2 separate regions of the Homo sapiens genome follow, and region 1 is linked to region 2. Evidence: promoter capture Hi-C in human tissues and cell types (Jung and others, 2019). All regions are on one chromosome and are shown on one strand. Each heading gives the region's core, a stretch centred on a gene start or on the middle of the fragment in contact. The rest is flanking DNA. Distances are from core to core; before and after follow the strand shown.

The links. Contacts are between HindIII fragments. The study calls those that stand out against the background at their distance.
Region 1: a fragment that was not itself captured here is called in contact with the fragment with the promoter of GMCL1 in region 2 in 1 of the 25 tissues and cell types used here (aorta).

What each region holds. Positions count from the first base shown.
Region 1 is chr2:69,787,463-69,792,005 of GRCh38, forward strand. ANXA4 (annexin A4) reads left to right here. Exons shown (of 13, transcript NM_001153.5): 3 at 592-679. SMANTIS (SMARCA4 interacting SWI/SNF chromatin remodeling complex scaffold lncRNA) reads right to left here. Exons shown (of 3, transcript NR_164155.1): 2 at 2,803-2,974; 3 at 2,087-2,464. Among named protein-coding and RNA genes, the nearest start is that of SMANTIS, 9.3 kb to the right of the region's middle. The HindIII fragment of the contact is 4,638 bases long and covers 639-4,543 here.
Region 2 is chr2:69,828,290-69,832,622 of GRCh38, forward strand. It overlaps GMCL1 (germ cell-less 1, spermatogenesis associated), which reads left to right and starts at 1,371. Exons shown (of 14, transcript NM_178439.5): 1 at 1,371-1,863. The coding sequence starts at 1,604. It overlaps LOC124906021 (a long non-coding RNA gene), which reads right to left and starts at 1,242. Exons shown (of 2, transcript XR_007086846.1): 1 at 1-1,242. RefSeq lists enhancers at 407-1,328, 723-812, 1,329-2,249 and silencers at 1,223-1,452, 1,833-1,912, 1,860-2,035. The HindIII fragment of the contact is 8,350 bases long and covers 1-4,333 here.

The DNA.
Region 1 (4,543 bases), core at 1,708-4,207, 39 kb before region 2:
TGTGGTTTAACATTCTCCTTTCTCCTGTTTACTGGAAATTTGTTTTTGGCTCTAGAGGCTTGACTGGATTCAGGTTTGATATTTTTCCCTTTTGGGGAGAACAGGGTTCCACGTTGGTGTAGTTTGTCTTCCCCCCACTCCTTGCCCACCAACTTGAGCCACACTGGCCTCTGTCCTGCTTTCCCTACAAACTAGTTCCGGCCTCAGGACCTTTGCAGGAGCTGTTTCCTCTGCCTGTAACCCTTGCCTCCATCTTTGCATGAGCAGCTGCTTCATTTCATTCAGCTCTTAACCTCAATGTCACTCCTCAGAATGGGTCCTGCAGGACCTCTCTATCTGCTTCACAGCAATGCTCACCCCTAGGCACTTTATGGAATTGTGAATTGTTGGCTTGTTTACTGTCTGCCTCCCATGAGCTAGAGCATCAGTCCCGGGGAGCAAGAGCTTAATTTTTCATGGTCACTACTGTACCCCTAGCACCTAGAATACCATCTAGGCTATGGTCAGTGCTCAACAAATGTTTGCCGAATGAGATGCCTCCGTGTTGGTGAGAGGCTGCCTCTCAGTAACATCACTCTCTTGTGTGCTCAGGCAACCAAAGGAGGTACTGTCAAAGCTGCTTCAGGATTCAATGCCATGGAAGATGCCCAGACCCTGAGGAAGGCCATGAAAGGGCTCGGTATGTGTCCTGCTGGAAGTGAATCCTCCTGCGTGCATTGCACATCACAGGGTCACACAGGAGGGTGCCATGTCTGCTGGCCATCACGTGGGTCTTCCTTTAATAAAACACAAGGGAGGCTGGGTGTGGGGCTCATGCCTGTCATCTCAGCACTTTGGGAGGCTGAGGTGGGCAGATCACTTGAGGCCACAAGTTCGAGACAAGCCTGGCCAACATGACAAGACCCCATCTAGACTAAAAATAAAAAAATTAGCCAAGCGTGGTGGCACACACCTGTAATCCCAGCTACTTGGGAGGCTGAGGCAGGAGAATCACTTGAACCCAGGAGGTGGAGGTTGCAGTGAGCTGAGATCTCGCCATGGCACTCCAGCCTGGGAGACAGAGTGAGACTCCATCTCAAAAAAGAAAGAAAGAGGCTGGGCACGGTGGCTCACGCCTGTAATCCCAGCACTTTGGGAGGCTGAGGCGGGTGGATCACGAGGTCAGGAGATCGAGACCATCCTGGCTAACACGGTGAAACCCCGTCTCTACTAAAAATACAAAAAAATTAGCTGGGCGTGGTGGCGGGCGCCTGTAGTCCCAGCTACTCAGGAGGCTGAGGCAGGAGAATGGCGTGAACCCGGGAGGTGGAGCTTGCAGTGAGCTGAGATTGCACCACTGCACTCCAGGCTGGGCGACAGAGCGAGACTCCATCTCAAAAAAAAAAAAAAAAAGAAAGAGGGAAAGAAGGGAAGAAGGAAGGAAAGAAGGAGGAGAGGGAGGGAGGGAGGGAAAGAAAACACATGGAACAAGTTGAGATAAGTTGGGACAAACTGGATGGGGAGGGGCATTAGTTCTTCACTTTAATAAAGAATGATAAATTTAATATACTCATTATGGATTTCCCCTATTGTTTAAACCTGCTTTGAATTACGACATCATGAATCTGCATATTAAATTTTAGAAATGTATTTGTTTTCCAATTAGTGCTGGTGTGTATATGGTGCCACAGATTTACAAAGCAGTTTCACAGACATTATCTCATTGGATATATGCAACAACCTGTGATTTAGTGAAAGCAGCTATTCCTATTGTTATTTTAGCCCCATTTTACAGATGTGAAACTGAGACCCAGAGAGGCCGAGTAACTCTCACCAAGTCGCACAGTGAGTGAAACTGAGCCATGGCTCACACTAGGCAGATCCCATCTCAAGCTCGGGGTCATCAGCACTAAGTCCACATTCTTGCCTTGAGTCCGTCTGCTTGTTGCTGTGGTGATAGACACAGCTGTGACAGCACCGACATGCAATGTGTGGAATTTAATGTGAGAAGGCTGGTGAAGCAGCCTTGTTGTCTGGGGTAAATACTAAGGTTTTTGGTGTCATGGCCAAGGAGATTGAGGTTGCAGACAGACACACACACAGTGAGTTTGGAGCAGGAGTTTAATAGGCAAAAGAAAAGAACAGCTCTCCATCACAGAGAGGGGTCCCGAGCGGGTTGCCAAGTGGTAGTAAAATTGTCAGGGTTTTTATAAATGGGCTACTGAGGAGGGGGCTCATGAGCAGAGGAGGTCTTATCCTCCTAGGGTCCAGTGGTTTGGTTGGGACCAGGTGTGCCTTCTATATAGAGCAGAGTTTTTTTAAATCAGCTCTTATCCCATTCTCTGACCACATAGATGGACTCTTATTCTGTGTTTCTTTGTCTTGCTTATCTGGGAGGGAGAGTTTCTGTGTCTGTTCCCACACATCTTCTTGCAGCTGCAGACATCCACCCAAGTCTGTTTTTAGCTCCTCAATCTTACTGCGCCTAAAGGGAAGGAATATGCTTATTAAGACCCACTGTTTTACTGGGGCCCACTGTGTAAATGTGAAGTTTGGTGATTACCCAGGAGACTTCCCCCTCCCTTTCTGTGCTCAAGCCATCTTCTCTGTGTTTTACAGCCTGAACTTTCAGGCTGCTTGTTGTTAGAAGAGAAGTGCTTTTTTTTTGAACTGCATGAGGTTAGAAAGGGAGCTATTTTTGAGCTGCTTTTTGTTAAAAGGAAAGTTTTCTGCTGGGGACTCACTTTACCCTAAATGTCTACCTAAATCATTTCTTTCTGCCTCCTATAACATATTTCCCCCCTCAGGAATGAAATCCATAACTGCTGCTAGGGGAAACTGGGTGACGATTTCTTCTGGCTACTTCCTGCTGGAGAGTGGCGTTGTGTGGGGAACAGCAGCTAGGGCTCCTCCTGGGGTTGATTTAAGGGTCCCTCGTAGGAGGGCAGTTTCATTTTCGGCTCCATTTTCAGCACCATCTGAAGCTTGATGGTTTCTAAGCGAGAAGAGATAAACTTCACAAGGAGGTTTAGAATATAGGTTCTAAATATGAGTATTAAGATTACTATTATTAATGGGGGCACTATAGGCCGTAACCATGACAACAGAGTTTGTTTGATACCTGTGAGCCATTCAGATGGGTTGTGCTGCTGTAAGTGGGTATATGGGGCTTGGCTTTGTTTAGCTTCCTTGGTCTTACTTTCCCAAAAAAGGGAGAAACCCTGGGGTTCTAGTTTACCTGGCAGGATTTGTAGGATAATTGCCCAGAACTAGAACATGTTTCCAGATTTTTCTATTACCGATGCCTTTCTGTTTTCTCTGAGCTGCAGCCAGAGATTCCTGGTTGGTTGACAGGAGTAAGCAGGGTTAGTTTAAAATGTAGGCAAGAACTTAAAAACAACTGATGGGACTACAGGTTAATAACAGATGTATGATAAGTCTTAAAACATAATTTCTCTTTCTCTAGTCCTCATTTTTGTTAAAAATAATCTATGATAGGACTGAGTTGTTTGCAAAACAGACTTCAGTCCTATACTTGGCCTAATTATTTGCATAAAGTACAGCAAGAATAATCATCCTTACATAAGCCTCTTAGATTGGCTTTGATGGAACCTTGTTCCATGAGGAATTTTAGATAGGACTTTTTAAAGCCAAGCCCAGCCATAGGTTTGTACTTTTAAATACCTGTGAGTTGGATAAATTTTTTTCCTTCTTGAGGTTCCAGAAGCATGGGGTTCCTAGGCCTGTTAGAAAGTGACATTCTTTACTCACTGCAGGTCAGGAACCCTGTATGGAGACTGTGTAGACAGATATGAGGCCAGTTTTCCCCAGGGGCTTTTATTGGCTCAGCAAGTTAAGCTTGATTCCTTAAAGGGAAATATACCCTTCTAGTCAAAGCCTTGGTAAAACAACCAGTTTTTCCAATTGTGTTTTGTTGCAAGAGAAAATGGATTCTTGCTGCACTGATTCAAACAACTATATTGTTGTAATTTAAGAATATTTATAACTAGTTTCCAAATTCTACAGGAATTAGGCAGAGAGACATAAACATGCTCCAAACTTTGCCTATAGTAGTACACTTTGCTTAGTTATCAAAGGCTGTAGCTAGCTTAAGACAAGTTTTTTTGACTCTAAAAAATAAAATAAGGATTAGCCGTGTTCTAAGAATAAGTGAAGAATATTGCTTTAGTTTTCTATTAGTTCAGTTCATTCCATTAACTTTTGTTTTGATATTTATAAACATTTTAGCCTTTTATGAGTCCCATACATTTTTTGGTCATGACAAACCTGCATTGGAGAGAACTTGTTAAAGTCCCATGGCTTGATTATGAACCATCTTTTGAAGAGAATTAAAACAAAACAACAATTGTCTGTAAATGACAAAATGTCCAGTTTGGATACAGTCAGAAATACAATTGACAAAGAAATTTGGTTATTTTTGTGTTTTTCAAAAACCCAGCATAACAACCTTAATTGTAATAGCACATATTCAGACACTAGAACCATAGACATCCCATACAGTTTTGGAACACATGTTAATATTATTCCCTAAAGTATAACCTGA
Region 2 (4,333 bases), core at 121-2,620:
CAGATTTCTCATGCATGAATCAGACATTAGTCCACGGGGACCCTCAAACTACGTATACTGCCAATGGGAGTCTAAATTGGTACCTTGATGCAATCAACCCAGAGAGCAATTTGGTAATAGCTAACAAAGTTGCAGATTTCGCAGCAAATTCACTTTTGGGAATCTGCTTGGTGAATCCATTGCACATGATGTTCATTGCTGCTCTGTAAGGCCGTTAAAGTAGAAATAACCTCTCTCACTAAGGAATGTAAAAACAAATATGGGTCAGTCATACAATGAGCAGTGAAAATTATCTAGCGATTGACCAAATGGATAAATCTTGAGAGTATAATTTTGAGAGAGGAGAAAGGTGCACAATGAGAGGTACAACTATGATTCCATTCCATGATATGTCTAAACATGCAAAAGAAAATATTATTTATGGGTATGCATATAAGGACATGCATGGACATGATATACAACATTCTCAGCACAGTGATTGCCACTGGGGAGGGAGACAGAATGAGATGGAGGAGGTACGCAGGGGCTTCTGCCTATATGTATTGTTCTATTTAAAAAAGAATGAATCATTGATTACACCTCAATAAAGCTGGGAGGAAAAAAGAATGAAAGCAAGTCTGATAAAATTTCAAGCTAGTGGTCGGTCCACAGGAATCTGTATTACTCTATTTGAAATATTTTCATTATTTTACTTAAAAAGTAACAGAAGGGAGTCAGGGAATGAACGCTGGCTGTCCGGAGTCCATCACAAGAGCTGCTACTACTCCAAGCAGACACTAGTAAATTTTGCTAGGGCCTCCTGAAGGCACTTTTGAGTCCAGACAGTCATGGTGCCAGACCCTATTCGGACATCCCACTGGCACTTGAGAGGAAAGGAAAGGAGTGCCGGGAACGTTCCCATAACTTAACGGGTTCCATTCACGTCTACAGCAGGGGAGGGCTCATGTTAAGGAAGCCCAGGAATCCAGCATATCGCCTCATCCTAGGGCCCCCTCTCACAGGAGGCCACGCCCAAGCAAGCAGAGCGTGGCCCCAGCAAGCGCCGAGCTCCCGCAAGGAGACCAAATAGCTTCGGGGTTTTGCCACTAGCTTAGCACAGGCCCATAAGCACCGGGGACTCAAGGCACCTTTGTAGAAACAATGAGTGACTGGAGTCCCAGGTCTTGCCACTACAGAGGCGCGTATGAACCACGGTTTAACACTACGTCTACGCCGAAGTTCGGGTTAGTCAGAGGCCACGCCCACCGCAGGCCCGAAAACACCAGCCTGCACTGGCGCGCCGGATTGTGCGCAGGCTCCACCTGCCACGCACGCACGCCTTGCCCCGCCCCTTCCGGAGGCTCGCCGTACGCATGCGCCCTCCGTCCCGCGCTTTGTTGCGAAAGCGAGGGGGCGAGGTGCTGCGGTGCTAGAGCGCGGCGCGACCGGACGCTGCGGGCGGGGAAGAGGATGGAGACTGTGGCGTCCGCTGCAACGGTTGGGGCTGCGCGTGAGAAGGTGGCGGTGTAGGCACCTGCGCTCGGGGAAGGCTGGCGGCGGCGGCCGAGCCATGGCGGGAGACCCCCTTCTCTGGGCTCCCTGAAGTCTCGGGGAGCCGTGACCCATGGGATCGTTGAGCAGCCGGGTGCTGCGCCAGCCAAGACCAGCCCTTGCCCAGCAGGCGCAGGGTGCCAGGGCGGGGGGCTCGGCCCGGAGGCCGGACACTGGAGACGATGCGGCGGGCCACGGATTCTGTTACTGTGCGGGCAGCCACAAGCGCAAGCGGAGCAGCGGGTCCTTCTGCTACTGTCACCCTGACTCGGAGACGGACGAGGATGAGGAGGAGGGGGACGAGCAGCAGCGGCTCCTCAACACCCCTCGAAGGTACGTGGGGGCACGCACCCGCGCGGACCCGGACCCGCACCTGTTGGGCCTGGGGCCGAGCCGGCGCCTCGTGCGCTTGCGGGGTGCAGCGCTCCCCAGCCTATGGAGAGGGGACGTGCCCTTGACAGGGTGAATGTGGAAGCCGGCCCGATGCGGGGCGGACTGGGGAGCGCCTTGGGAGACGCCAGGTGTTCCGCATTTTCAACCACAGACGCTTCCAGGGTGTTGTTACAGCCCCAAGATGAGGATGAGAAACGCCAAGCCCGAGCTCGCGTCTCGTTAAACCTTAGAGACGCCCGGCTGGCTGGCCTTCCCAGTCCACCTTTGCCCTCTCAAGTGGGTAGCCGCAGAGTAAGTTGTTTTGCATCCGGTTGCCTTAGTACAGACACTAAATGTAATCTCTGAAATAGGCACTCTTATTGTCGCCCACTCAGTGGAGGGTAAGTAATTGCACACAGGAGTTCTTGTTAATTGTAAAGGTGAAGTTTATCAATAGTGTACATTTGTTCCTAACTAGGAACAGAGTCTGTGCAAGTTTCTAGTAGTTGATGAAGTCGTTGACCGTGGATGTACTGTATGTAGGGCGGTGCTGCTGCAGCTTGTTTAACCCCTTTTTTTTTTTTTTTTGGATGAGTTGAAAGATGGAATATTGACTTGTGACCTGGAATGTAGTTTATAGGTAGAATATATGCTTACACAAACAATTTGGTTTTTCTGCTTTTGTTTTTAAAGGTTATTTGGTAGGGTCACACATGAAATTTTTTAAATGATTTCTTTTTCTTTTTGAGACAGAGCCTTGCTCTGTCACTCAGGCCGGAGTGCAGTGGTGCGATCTCAACTCACTGCAACCTCCACCTCCTGGTTCAAGCGATTCTTGTGCCTCAGCCTCCCGAGTAGCTGGGACTACCGGCGCGCACCACCACGCCTGGCTAATGTTTTCTGTTTTTAGTAGAGACAGGTTTCATCGTGTTGGCCAGGCTTGTCTCAAATTCCCGACCTCAGGTGATCTGCTGGCCTCAGCCTCCCAAAGTGCTGGAATTATAGGCGTGAGCCACTGCGCACCCGGCCTAAAATTAAACTTTAAAAGCAGATTCAAAAAGGTTTTGCTATACAAGTGTTATATATTGTAAAAAAGGAATCATAGATTAAAAACTTAATAGTTTGGTTTATAAAACCTTTTGTACCTTTTTTTGTATGAATATTTGTATTTATTATACAAAAATGTACCCCTACTGTGAATACTATTCAGTAACTTTTTTAATTGTTTGTTTGATTTTTGGAGCTTTTTTCTAAAGGAGTCTCACTATATTGCCCAGGCTGGTCTCAAACGCCTGGGTTGAAGCGATCCTCCCACCTAAGCCTCCCAAAGGGCTGAGATTACAGGTGTGAGCCACCATGCCTGACCCTGTAACCTTTTTGAAGCGTCAGTGTAGCATAGTTTTTTTTTCCTTTGGAAAAATTTTTCTCTATTTTGAGACAGGGTCTCGCTGTGTCGCCCAGGCTGGAATGCAGTGGTGGGATCATGACTCACTCTACCTCGACCTCACAGAATCAGGCAATTCTCCCACCTCAGCCTTCTGTGTAGCTGAGACCACAGGCATGCACCACCACACCCAGCTAATTTTTTTATTTGTAGAAACAAGGTCTCACTCTGTTGCCCACCCAGGCTGGCCTGGAACTCCTGGGTTCAAGTGATCCTGTTGCCTTGACCTCCCAAAGTGTTGGGATTACAGGTGTGAGCCACCATTGCCAACCTATAGCATAGTTTTAAGAGTTCTGAGTTCTTGGCCAGGTGCAGTGGCTCATGCCTATAATCCCAGCACTTTGGGAGGCTGAAGCAGACAGATCACCTGAGGTCAGGAGTTCAAAACCAGCCTGGCCAACATGGCGAAACCCTGTCTCTACTAAAAATATAAAAACTAACCAGTCGTGGTGGCAGCTGCCTGTAATCCCAGCTACTCGGGACGCTGAGGCAGAAGAATGGCTTGAACCTGGGAGGCGAGGTTGCAGTGAGCCAAGATCGCACAACTGCACTCCAGTCTGGGTGACAAAGTGAGACTCTGTCTCAAAAAAAAAAAAAAAATTCTGACTTCTTGTCTGTATTCTGCACTTAATAGCCTTATTTCCCTCATATGTAAATTGGAGATATAAATACCTGCCTTTTAGGCTTTGACAAATATGAGAACAAACAAATGCACAATGTCTAGAATGTAAGCATGCAGTAAATATGTCTCCTTGATGAATTGGCCCCTTTATCATAACAAAATGTTCATCCTTCTTTATCCCTAGTAATTTAGCCACTACCACATACATACATACATATATACATTTATTTATTTATATTTAGGGGGTACAGCTGCAGGTTTCTCACATGTATATAACAAGTAGTGGTGAAGTCTGGGATTGTAGTGTATCCATCAGCCACTTTCTTTTGATAAATGTCTGAATGATATCTTATTTTCCCTCCTTT